Regions from separate parts of the Homo sapiens genome. Here region 1 is linked to region 2. The links are contacts of gene promoters, found by promoter capture Hi-C in blood cells and fetal thymus (Javierre and others, 2016). All regions are on one chromosome and are shown on one strand. Each heading gives the region's core, a stretch centred on a gene start or on the middle of the fragment in contact. The rest is flanking DNA. Distances are from core to core; before and after follow the strand shown. Region 1 holds the start of ZBTB8OS (zinc finger and BTB domain containing 8 opposite strand). Region 2 holds the start of SRSF4 (serine and arginine rich splicing factor 4).

The links. Contacts are between HindIII fragments. The CHiCAGO score rates a contact against its expected background, and 5 or more counts as called.
Region 1: the fragment with the promoter of ZBTB8OS here is called in contact with the fragment with the promoter of SRSF4 in region 2 in 2 of 17 cell types (non-activated CD4 T cells and total CD8 T cells); the score reaches 5.4 in non-activated CD4 T cells.

Annotation. Positions count from the first base shown.
Region 1 is chr1:32,645,595-32,651,799 of GRCh38, forward strand. ZBTB8OS (zinc finger and BTB domain containing 8 opposite strand) reads right to left here and starts at 4,956. Exons shown (of 7, transcript NM_178547.5): 1 at 4,839-4,956. The coding sequence starts at 4,935. RBBP4 (RB binding protein 4, chromatin remodeling factor) reads left to right here and starts at 5,614. Exons shown (of 12, transcript NM_005610.3): 1 at 5,614-5,728. The coding sequence starts at 5,713. RefSeq lists silencers at 1,967-2,036, 5,293-5,862 and enhancers at 3,553-3,692, 4,826-5,413, 5,414-6,002, 6,163-6,205. The HindIII fragment of the contact is 3,350 bases long and covers 1,962-5,311 here.
Region 2 is chr1:29,179,485-29,185,961 of GRCh38, forward strand. SRSF4 (serine and arginine rich splicing factor 4) reads right to left here and starts at 2,416. Exons shown (of 6, transcript NM_005626.5): 1 at 2,162-2,416. The coding sequence starts at 2,268. It also overlaps a transcript of MECR not described here. RefSeq lists silencers at 2,015-2,204, 2,255-2,464 and enhancers at 2,469-3,106, 2,535-2,764, 3,107-3,744. The HindIII fragment of the contact is 7,304 bases long and covers 1-6,477 here.

The sequences.
Region 1 (6,205 bases), core at 3,706-6,205, 3.5 Mb after region 2:
GCCCAGGATGGAGTGCAGTGGGGGCAATTATAGCTCCAAAAGATAGAGCCCAGCCTTACTCTGTAGCCCAGGATAGAGTGCAGTGGTACAATTATAGCTCCAAAAGACCAAGCCGAGTCTCAAACTCCTGGGTTCAAGTGATGCTCCCACCTCAGCCTCTGGAGTAGCTGGGACTACAGGCTGGGGCCAGTTTTACCAACCACTGATTTTGTACCACCAGTACAAATATCAACACAGTGAAAACAATAACACCTCAGTATTATTATGAAAATAGTTTTGACATCACAGACCCTCTGGAAGGATATAGGGAACCCCAGGAATACAGAGATTACATTTTGAGAACTATTATACTACTTATACAAGTGTACTCAGTTTCTGAAAATTCACTTATGACACGGGCACTCTTCTATAAGTACATCATACTTCAATAAAAGATGTATTTTGGCTGGGTGCAGTGCCTCACGTCTGTACTCCCAGCACTTTGGCAGGCCAAGGCAGACAGATCATCTGAGGTCAGGAATTCGAGACCAGCCTGGCCAACATGGTGAAACTCCATCACTACTAAAAATGAAAAATTAGCTGGGTATGATGGTGCACGCCTGTAATCCCAGCTACTCAAGAGGCTGAGGTTGGAGGATCACTTGAGTCCAGGAGGCAGAGGTTGTAGTGAGTCAAAGTCGCACCACTGCACTACTCCAGCTTGGGTGACAGAATGAGACTGTCTCAGGGAAAAAAAAAAAGATTTTTTTTTCTTGGTATCTAATTCCAGGTTATTCAATTAAAGTTTTTTATTTTATTATTATTTTTTTTTGAGAAAGAGTCTCACTCTGTTGCCCAGGCTGGAGTGCAGTGGTGCAATCTCGGCTCACTGCAAGCTCCGCCTCCCGGGTTCACGCCATTCTCCTGCCTCAGCCTCCCGAGTAGCTGGGACTACAGGCGCCCGCCACCTCGCCCGGCTAATTTTTTTGTATTTTTAGTAGAGACAGGGTTTCACCATGTTAGCCAGGATGGCCTCAATCTCCTGACCTCGTGATCCGCCGGCCAAAAGTTCTATTTTCAAATGTATAAAAAAAAAATTAGGAAAATTATTTTAAAATCTCAGTGGACAAGGCATTCCCTGAGTATGACTTCTTATCTTAGAAGCCATAAAAAAAAGGGTTGGCCGGGAGTGGTGGCTCATGCCTGTAACCCCAGCACTTTGGGAGGCTCAGGTGGGCGGATCACTTGAGGTCAGGAGTTCAAGACCATCCTGGCCAGCATGGTGAAACCCTGTCTCTACTAAAAAAAAAACACAAAAATTAGCCGGGTGTGGTGGTGGGCACCTGTAATCCCAGCCATACGGAAGGCTGAGGCAAGAGAATCACTTGAACCCAGGAGGCGGAGGTTGCTGTGAGCTGAGATGGTGCCACTGCACTCCAGCCTGGGAGACAGAGCAAGATACTGTCTCAAAAAAAAAAAAAAAAAAAAAAAAAAAAAAAATGCCAGGCGTGGTGGCTTACGCCTGTAATCCCAGCACTTCGGAGGCCGAGGCGGGCGGATCACCTGAGATTGGAAGTTCGAGATTGGAAGTTCGAGACCACCCTGACCAACATGGAGAAACCCCATCTCTACTAAAAATACAAAATTAGCCAGGCACGGTGGTGCATACCTGTAATCCCAGCTACTCTGTCTCAAAAAAAAAAAAAAAAAAAAATTAGCCAGGTGTGGTGGTGCATGTCTGTAGTCCCAGCTACTCAGGAGGCTGAGGCAGAAGAATTACTTGAACCTGGGGGGCAGAGGTTGCAGTGACTGGAGATCATGCCACTGTACTCCAACCTGGATGACAAAGCGAGACTCTGTCTCAAAAAAAAAAAAAAAAGAAAAGAAAGAAAGGGTCAATGCAGGGGGTCCCCAACCCCCTGGCCAGTACCAGTTGGTGGCCTGTTAGGAACCAGGCAGCACAGCAGGACATGAGCTCACAAAGCTTCTTCTATATTTACAACAGCTCCCCATTGCTAACATTACTGCCTGAGCTCCACTTCCTTTCAGATCAGGCACAGCATTAGATTCTCATAGGAGCTTGAACACTATTGTGAACTGCACATTGAGGGATCTAGGCTGTGTGCTCCTTATGAGAATCTAAAGCCTGATGATCTGTCATCCCCAGATGGGACCATCTAGTTACAAGAAAACAAGTTCAGGGCTCCCACTGATTCTATATTACAGTGAGTTGTATAATTATTTCATTATATATTACAACGTAATAATAATAGAAATAAAATGCACAATAAATGTAATGCGCTTGAATCATCCTGAAACCATCCTCCCCTACAACCCCCGTTGGTGGAAAAACTGACTTCCGTGAAACCAGTCCCTAGTGCCAAAAAGGTTGGGGACCGCTGGTTAATGAACTGCATTGCATAAAAACACTTTCTGCCTAGTAAGAAAAACCAACAACCCAAGACAAAAAAAAAATAACCCAAGAGAAAAAAGGGCTAAGAATATTAACATACACACCCCAGAATGGGAAATACAAATAGCTTCCAAAACAGTATAATATGTTCAACTTCACTTACAATAAGAAAAATACAGTAAGTATACTTTACAAATTAGAAAAGATAAAAAAGTATGGTAACAATTAGTAGAAGTGGGAGGAAAGAGGCACATTCACACAATACTAGTGAAAGTATAAATTGGTACAACTCCTATAGAGAGCAATTTGGCAATAACTGTCCAAGTTAAAATATCCTTTTAAAAAATGTAGGAGTCTTAGCAATGGAAACAAAAAAAACTTGGAGAACTTGATTCTACAGATTCACTTGCACATGTACAAAACAGTGGATGTACAAGTGTATTCACTGCTGCACTGTTTCTAATACCACAAGAGTAGAAATAGCCTAAACGTCCATCAACTGAAAATTGGTTAAAGCAAATGCTAGAACATCTAGGTATGTACATGTAAGAAAAAGGTAACGATGACTGCTCTACAGAGGGGGACTAGGTAGTTGAGGATGGGGGCTGCCAGAGTTACTTTTCACTGCCTATGTTACACTTTCTGAATTTCAAATCAATATATATGACCTATTAAAAATAATTTTTTTTTGAGATGGAGTCTGGCTCTGTCGCCCAGGCTGGAGTGCAGTGGTGCAATCTCGGCTCACTGCAACCTCCGCCTCCCAGGTTCAAGCGATTCTCCTGCCTCAGCCGCCCAAGCAGCTGGGATTACAGGCACCCACCACCATGCCTAGCTAATTTTTGTATTTTTAGTAGAGATGGGGTTTCACCATGTTGGCCAGGCCAGGCTGATCTCAAGCTCCTGACCTCAGGTGATCCACCCGCCTCAACCTCCCAAAGTGCTGGGATTACAGGCGTGAGCCACAGCACCAGGCCTTTTTTTTTTTTTTTTTTTTTTTGAGACAGTCTCACTCTGTTGCCCAGGCTGGAGTGCAGTGGTGTGATCTCGGCTCACTGCAGCCTCCACCCTCCTGGGTTCAAGCAATTCTCCTGCCTCAGCCTCCCGAGTAGCTGGGATTACAGGCGCCCACCATCATGCGCAGCTAATTTTTGTATTTTTAGTAGAGACGGGGTTTCACCATGTTGGCCAGGCTGGTCTGGAACTCCTGACCTCAGGTGATCCACCCACGTCAGTCTCGCAAAGTGCTGGGATTATAAGTGTGAGCCACCGCAAACGGCCTATAATATTTTAAAATTGTTTTTAAGTGAGAGAAGGGGATATGCTAGGAGGTATGCCAGCTCCAGAAAGCACATTGCCTAGAATACTATGGTAAATAAGTAGATTTTACAGAGAGGACAATGAGAAATTAATGAAAGATTTTAAGCAGATAAATAAAAGTCAGATTTGTGCTCCCCAAACCACAGCTACCTTTAGGGATGACAGCTTAACGTTTAATATAGAATTTAAGAGACAAAGATAGGTTATGTGATTTGCCTAAAGTCACTAAGCGAATAAATGGCAAAACCAGCTGGGCACTGCAGCGCGGGCTATGATCGCTCCATTGCACTCCAGCCTGGACGACAGAGCGAGACCCCATCTCTAAAAACACACACACACACACACACACACACACACACACATTTTTTTTTTTTTTTGAGACAGAGTTTCGCTCGTTGCCCAGGCTGGAGTGCAATGGGGCGATCTCGGCTCACCGCAACCTCCGCCTCCCGGGTTCAAGCGATTCTCCTGCCTCAGTCTCCCGAGTAGCTGGGATTACAGACATGCTCCACCACGCCCAGCTAATTTTGTATTTTTAGTAGAGACGGGGTTTTTCCATGTTGGTCAGGCTGATCTCGAACTTCCGACCTCAGGTGATCCGCCCGCCTCGGCCTCCCAAAGTGCTGGGATCACAGGCCTCAGCCACCGAGCCCGGCCTAAAATAATCATTTTTAAAAATCACAATCATAAATGGCAAAACCAGGTTTTTTGCTAATATGATCGAGGTGAAACATCAAGTTAGAAATCCCCTAATTAGCTTTCCGAGTCCTCTAACCTCGCACACTCTAATCTCACCGTTGGGAAATACATGGGGGTAACAACCCTGCAAACGCCTGAAAATATGGTTATCTTTAGAATTTACGAAGATAAATGTGATTAGGCACATGTGGAAGAAGTTCAAGAGACTGTAAATGAGGGAGGCCAGGTTTCGCGACTATTAAACCAGGTGGCTTTTTCCTTCAGCATCCCCAGGAGAAGTACGAACGCGACTACAACAGCCGGCACAAATGGGATCATGCCTGAAGTACCCATGGGGCACAGTAGAAAGAGCAGCAGGAAGCCGCGGGTAAGGAGAGGGGATGCCTGTGTGCTTACATGTAAAGAGAGAAGTAAGCCACCTACTCACACTCGTACTTCCTATTGACTGGCGGATACTTGGCCTTGATCGCCTTCTGTTCTTCAGTCAAATTGTAATCTCTAACATCTTCCTCTTCCTGCGCCATGACTGCAGGATTAGACACTCTACTTCCGCCCTTCATCCACCGGACTTCGGCCCGGAGTTACTACTTCCGCTCTAGACTCCGCCCCTTGGCGCACACCCTTAAAGGACCACACTCCTTTCTCGGAGTTGGCTGTTGACCTACTTTAGTCCCTACCCTGCCGCTTGGATCGCATATTTAAAAAGCCAAAACCCCATCTTCTGCGATTCCTTCATTACTAGTTCTTTCCAAAGACTAAGGAAAAACGTTGAAGGGCACCTTGAATGAAACCCGTCTGGGTCTGACTGGCGAGGTTCTTTCCCCCGCTTCACCCCCAAAATTGATAACTAGACCCGAAGGCATTCTAGATTTTTCATCTCAGTACTCTGAAAGGGTCGTAAGCTTAATAGCCTTCAAGAAAATGGCTGCCCTCTTGCCGCGGGAGTGTGCGGACCAAACCTCTCTCACGTGACCCTGACCGGGCGCAGTCCCGTCAACGCCGGCGCGCGCAATCGCTGGAAGTCGGCTCGGGGAGGCGTGGGGGGAGGGGCGGAGCGCGCGCCTCGGTCCCCGCGGAAAGCTACTCCGCGCGTCTGGATTGGTCGCGAACGCGGCTTCCCCGCCCATCCCGCCATTAGGAGCGCTCCCATTGGCTGATGTTGGCGCGAAGGTGCGCGAGTCAGCCCTCGCGCTGGGGGCGCAGGAAACAATAGAGGCCGCGCGCACAGAGCGAGCTCTTGCAGCCTCCCCGCCCCTCCCGCAACGCTCGACCCCAGGATTCCCCCGGCTCGCCTGCCCGCCATGGCCGACAAGGAAGGTGAGGGTGCCGGGGCCGACCCAGGAGGGCAGTGGGTGCCTGGGCTGAGCCGCGGCCTCGACATGGCCTAACAGTGAGGGCAGGCCCGAGTTTGCCGAGTGCAGTCCCCGGTACTGAAGGCGTGAAGAGGGAACTCCCCGCGGGGCGTGCTAACGGCTCGCCAGTTCCCTGGGACCGATTTCGGTCGCAGCTGGCGAAGCCAGCGGTGGGGCCCCCGGCCAGTGTTTGTTTCTCTTCCTGCCTCCGATATCGGTTTCTCGGCCTCTGTCCCGAGCGTGGGGACACCGCTTCCTACCCACAAGGCTCGGAGCTCGGGCCTCCTCGTCGGGCTTGTGAGTTTCGGCGCGCACGAGCGTGCTCCGAAGGCCTGGCTGGCCCCTTGGCCTGGAACGGGTAACGGAGTGTTTGGCGGGGATGGCCCGAGGAGTTTCGGCGCCGCGAAAGTGGAGAGTGTGGATGCCTCTGCCGTGGGGATTT
Region 2 (6,477 bases), core at 1,166-3,665:
AAGTAGCTAGGACTATAGGCGAGTGTCACCACGCGTGGCTAATTAAAAAAATTTTTTTCTTAGAGATGGGGTCAGGCTGGTCTCAAACTCCTGGCCTGAAGTAATCTTCACACTTCAGCTGGGATTGCAGGCACAAGTCACCATGCCTGAGCCCCAACTACGACATATACTATTCCCAGAAACCTAAATTTCTTCACTTCAAGCTCTAATCTATTCTTCAAAGCCATTTCAACACATCTTTTCAAGCAAATCATTCCAAGTTTTACTAGAGTTTAAAGCGAAAGCAAACATTTCTTAATTCAAAGTGCACATGTCATAATGCTTAATTTATTCAAGAGCAGAACTGTTTTCTGCCTCCTCCCCCAATTCATTTAGCACAGTGGTGGACATTTTGTTGATGGGTTATCAATACATTTGGTTGATGAATCAGTTTCCCATTAACAGTCTTGTCATTTCCTGCACACTATCACCTGAGTAACATTAGAAAAGACCTCACCAAACACGCTTTATGTTATCAAACACCAACAAGCAAAGATGTTTCCTCATCCCTCTGATTATAGCTGCCACTTACTGCCTAAGCCAAATGCTTTACATTTATTATCTCTAATCTTCCTTTTCCACATGAATGAACAACCAGGTTCAGAGAAGTAACTTGCCCATACGTAGTAAGTGGTGGAACCAGGATTTGACTTAGGCCTGGCTGGCTTCAAAATCCACACTTTGTCCACAAAAGTTAGTTATGCTGTCAATTTAGCTGGGCTCTGAAAAAAACTGGAGTTTCAACTTTCACATATATGGTATGTATACAATAACGTCTACCCGCCACTTCAATATATCCTTAAGAACTGAACGTTTTACTGTAGAAAAGGAGTAGTTTTTAAAGCCTTTTACTGTAAAAGAAATCAGTACTTTACTAAAGACGTCCTCAGAAAGAAAACGATTCTAATAATTAATTTGAAATGGCTTTTTAAACCCAAATCATCATTTGAGAATACGGTAGCTACCAGTTTTCTCATACGTGAAACATACTTAGGTAACTTTCAAAATGTTTCAGGTGTCAGTTACTAGTATAACCCTGGGGAGTAAACGGTAGCTATATTACAACTGTTGCAAAGTAGAGTTTCTTTTTTAAGCCAAGAGTTCTCTAACACCCAAGGTTTAGTGCCCTAAAATGTCACCCCAGTCCTTTTAATTTTATATCCATGCCTTCCAAGCCCTACCTAACATCTGGTTCCCAGTTTTCCCCGTTGAGTATTTTCTCCAGGCCTGATTCCTCAACAGTTTTCCCTAAAACCTGTAGCTCATGCTGGCACTATTTTTGCCGAAGTAGATTAAGAATACAAGTAATAGATCATACTCTGGGGGAGGCAGTAAGTTAACAATTTCGTCTCCGTCTGCGTTAACCAGACGCAGATACTAGCCAGGGTGGCCACTATTCTCCTAACAAATTCTACAACGGCCAAGCAATTTTTCGGTAAGTTGGAAAACGGAAACCACAGCGTGGAAACTCTGCACGGAGTCTTAAAGATAAGAAGTTAAGACTTTAATTTACTCTTGCAGAGGGAACGGTGAAGGCTTTCAGCACGGCAAGACGATACTTTCGAAACTGTCACTAGACTACTCAAACTGGAGTCTCCCGCCCAAAAAAGCGTGGCACACGGCTAAAAAGGGCCTCCCTCCAAGGCTCCAGTCCTCGGGGAAGACGGCGCTGTGACCGTCTGATCCATGAGACCGGGCAAGAGGTGAAAGGGAGCAGGAAATCCTGTTTATTTCCAGTAGTCCTCAGAGCGGGAAAGGTTGGTGTCTACCCAGAAACGAATAGGGCCCCAGTTCCGGGCCTAGGAAGGGAAAACCCAGGTCTCCCGGGCGCCCTGGAGCTGTGCCCCCCTGCCCGGAGCACCAGCCCCACTCGGGCTTTCCTTCTCCCCGTCCCACTCAGGGCCTCAGCACAGCTCCCATTATGCCTCCACCACCCCCACCCGCGCAGGCGCAGTGGGAACCGGGGCCTACCCGCGCCCCCGAGGCGCCGCCACTATGGCGGAGCCTGGCCAGGCCGGTAGCCGCTCCGCGCGGACCAGGCGTCCCTCTCCCGTCCCCGCGGCCTCCCCACCACCTATGGGGTCTGTCCCCGCCCGGCCGGACCCTCTTTCGCCCTCCTCACCCGTTCTTCAGATCCACCTCCAGGATCTTCCCGTAGCCCTTAAAGAAGCGCTCCACATCGCGCTCCCGGGCCTGGTAGCTCAGGCGGCCGATGTACACCCGCGGCATCCCGGCAACGGCAGTGATGGCTGGCCCCGGCCCCAGCCCCCCTTAGGCGGCGGCGGGCAAAGCGAGAGCACGGCGGCAGCGGCGGCGGCGGCAACGGGCGGGCGGCGGGACGGACGCAGCCGAACCCCGGCGACGTACGCGAGCACGCAGCTCGCGAGCGCGCGCTTCCACTTCCCCCGCCCTTCCCCGAGGCGGAAGGTAACCGGAGAGAGCGCGCGTTCGCTTCCCGCTCGGCCAGGACTGGGGGAGGAGCTTGCCCGGGGGCGCGCCGACGTGCGGCGGGGCAAGGTGATCGACAGGCGGCGCTGCGGCACGTCCTCGCGCGAGCTCGCCAAAGGGGTTCCTGCACCGCCTTCCGCAGCCAGCTGGCTTCGCCCCTCCCCCGGAAGTGTCCGCACCTCCTAGAGCCCAGCGAGCGAGCGTTTGTGCTTTTGTCCTTTGAACCGGGTGTGGTTTGGATTTCGGAGCTGGAGCTTTGGAATCAAACCTAGCTTCCAAACGATTGTGTACCCGTGACCTTGGGCTTGTTACGCGCGATGTCTCGGACCCTCCTTTATCTTTTCTGTAAAAGGGGGAGAGTAGTTCCTACCTTCCAGAGTTGTCTTGAGAATTATATGAGAATACGTACATAAAGCACTTAGTAGTTTTGTCATATCAAGTGCCCAATAAATGAGACCAGTATTATTTTTAAGAGGACACTGCTTAAATAGAAGCAGTGTGAGAAGCGGAGAAGGCTGGAGCTTTGGAGCTAGACTAGGCATGACGCCGAGTAAATTACTTGACCACAATCCAACCTATTTTTTTTTTTTTGAGACGAGTTTCGCTCGGTCGCCCAGGCTGGAGTGCAGTGGCGCGACCTCAGCTCACTGCAACCTCCGCCTCCCGGGTTCAAGCGATTCTCCTGCCTCAGCCTCCAGAGTAGCTGGGACTACAGGCGCCCGCCCCCACGCCCGGCTAATTTTTGTATTTTTAGGAGAGAGGAAGTTTCACCATATTGGCCAGGCAGGTCTCAAACTCCAGACCTCAGGTGATCCGCCCGCCTTGGCCTCCCAAAGTGCTGGGATTACAGGCGTGAGCCACTGCGCCTGGCCTATCCAGTCTATTTTCTAACCTGTAAAATTAGAATAATGTATACCCATCTCAAGGATTACACAGGTCACTAAATGGGGTAGTGTATGTGAAAGTACTTGGAACAGTGTCTGAAACATGGTAAGAGCTCAATAAATATTGGTTCCCTTCTCACTAACGCCATGTACCTAGAACCATAAAGGGTTTTGTTTCTTTGCTTGTTTTTGTTTTTTGAATATTTTGAAAGGATAACTCAAGGTTCAAATGATACACAGTGAAAAGTCTTCGCTGTCCACCAGCCACTTAGTTTCTCTTCCCAGAGGCAGTTTCTGAAATGTCCTTTAGGAGGTTAATTTACCCTTATAAAACAAATAGTAGGATACTATACATATGGTTCTACACAAAATATATTTTGAAAATCATTCCTTAAGAGTATAAAAGGACTAGTTTTATGGTTCATACCATTTTATACACAGTAATTTATTTAGCCAGTGCCCTGGTGAAGGACATTGAAATAAGTTCCAACCTTTTGTTATTACACTGCTGCAGTAACTTTGCATTTCTCTCTCTCTCTTTCTCTCTCTCTCTATATATATCATCTATTCCTAGAAATAGGATATTTGGGTCAGAGTTTTGATAAGTTATTGCTCAATTCCCCTTAAGTGGCTGTTTCCTCATATCCTCATCAACACCGTGTTATCAAACTTTTTGATCTTTGCCAATCTGAGAGGTGAAAAATGTTATCTCCAAGTGGTTTAATTTGCAAATATCATATTTTGCAGAGATATGAGTCTTTCTTCATATGTTTGAGATATATTTTCCTATTTCTGTCTGTGTATATCCTTTACCCATTTTTCTTATTCATAGGTGCTCACTATATATTAGGAAAATCAGCTCTTTGTCAAATGAGTTGCAAATATTTTTTCCATTTGTTGACTTTTGACTTTGCCAAGAGTGTTTTTTAGCCATGCAAAAACATTAGATATTTATGGGATCAATTTATCCATCCTTTATTTTTCTTTGATTCTGGATTTTATTTTTAAATTTTTATTTATTCTACTTTTTTTTTTTTTTTTTGAGACTGAGTCTCGCACTGTCGCCCAGGCTGCAGTGCAGCGGTGCGATCTCAGCTCACTGCAACCTACGCCTTCTGGGTTCAAGCGTTCTCCTTCCTCAGCCTCTAGAGTAGCTGGGATTACAGGCACCTGCCACCACGCCCGGCTAATTTTTTTGTATTTTAGTAGAGAAGGGGTTTCACTATGTTGGCCAGGCTGGTCTTGATCTCCTGACCTCGTGATCTGCCTGCCTCGGCCTCCCAGAGTGCTGGGACTACAGGCGTGAGCCACTGTACCCGGCTTTTTTTTTTTTTTTTTGAGATGGAGTCTTGGTCTGTTGCCCAAGATGGAGTGTAGTGGCACTATCTTGGCTCACTGCAGTCTCTGCCTCCAGGTTCAAGCAATTCTCCTGCCTCAGCCTCCCAAGTAGCTGGGATTACAGGCATGTGCCACCACGCCTGGCTAATTTTTTTGTATCTTTAATAGAGACTGGGTTTCACCATGTTGGCCAGGCTGGTCTCAAACTCCTGACCTCAGGTGAGGTGGCGTGAGCCACCGCGCCCGGCAAGAAATCTATTTTGAAAGTAATAATTAGTGGCTGGGTGCGGTGGTTCACGCCTGTAATCCCAGCGCTTTGGGAGGTTGAGGCAGGAGGATCATCTGAGGTTAGGGATTCAAGACCAGCCTGGTCAACATGGGGAAACCCCATCTCTACTAAAAATACAAAAAATTAGCCAGGTGTGATTGTGTGGGCCTGTAGTTCAGCTATTCAAAAGGCTGAGGCAGGAGAATTGCTTGAACCCAGGTGGCAGAGGTTGCAGTGAGCCGAGATCGTGCCATCACACTCCAGCCTGGGTGACAAGAGCAAAACTCCATCTCAAAAACAGGCCACAGCGCCCAGCCTATTCTACTTTTTTAGAGATGGAGTCTCGTTGTTTTCCTGCCTGGTCTTAAACTACTGGGCTCAGGCCAGGCACAGTGGCTCACACCTGTAATCCCAGCACTTTGGGAGGCCGAGGTGGGTGGATCACCTGAGGCCAGGAGTTCGAGACCAGTCTGGCCAACATAGTGAAACCCTGTCTCTATTAAAAATACAAAAAATTAGCCAGACATGGTGGCAGGCGCCTATAATCCCAGCTACTCGGGAGGCTGAGGCAGGAGAATAGCTTGAACCCAGGAGGCGGAGGCTGCAGTGAGCCAAGATTGTGCCATTGCACTCCAGCCTGGGCAACAAGAGCGAAACTTTGTCTCAAAAAAGAAACAAACAAACAACTGGGCTCAAGCAATCCTCCCTTCTGGACCTCCCAGTGTTGAGATTACAGGCATGAGCCACTGCACCCAACCTCCTATTTATTATTTTATTTTTTAAATTTAATTCAATTTTATTTTTTGAGACAGAGTTTTGCTCTGTCACCCAGGCTGGAATACAGTGGCATGATCTTGGCTCACTGCAACCTGTGCCTCCTGGGTTCACACGGTTCTCCTGCCTCAGCCTCCTGAGTAGCTGGGACTACAGGCCCGTGCCACCATGCCAAGCTAATTTATGTATATATATTTTAGAGACAGAGTTTAACTCGTTGCCCAGGCTGGAGTGCAATGGCACGATCCCCGCTCACTGCAACCTCTGCCTCCCGGTTTCAAGTGATTCTCCTGCCTCAGCCTCCTGAGTAGCTGGGATTACAGGCATGTGCCACCACGCCCAGCTAATTTTGTATTTTTAGTAGAGATGGGGTTTCTCCACGTTGGTCAGGCTGGTCTTGAACTTCCAACTCCAGGTGATTCACCCGCCTGGGCCTCCCAAAGGGCTGGGATTACAGGTGTGAGCCACCTTGCCCGGCCATAATCTTTAATTCATTTGGAATTCAGTAAGTGTGAGGAACATAACATTCTTAAGAACTAGCAATCTGGCCTGGGCAACATGGCAAAAACCCGTCTCTGCAGAAAAAACAACAAAAAAAATTAGCCAGGCATGGCGGTGCATGCCTGTAGTCCCAGCTACTTGGGAGGCTGAGATGGGGGGGATCTCCTGAGCCCAGGGAGGTTGAGGCTGCAGTGATCTGTGATCATGCCACTGTCCTCAAGCCTG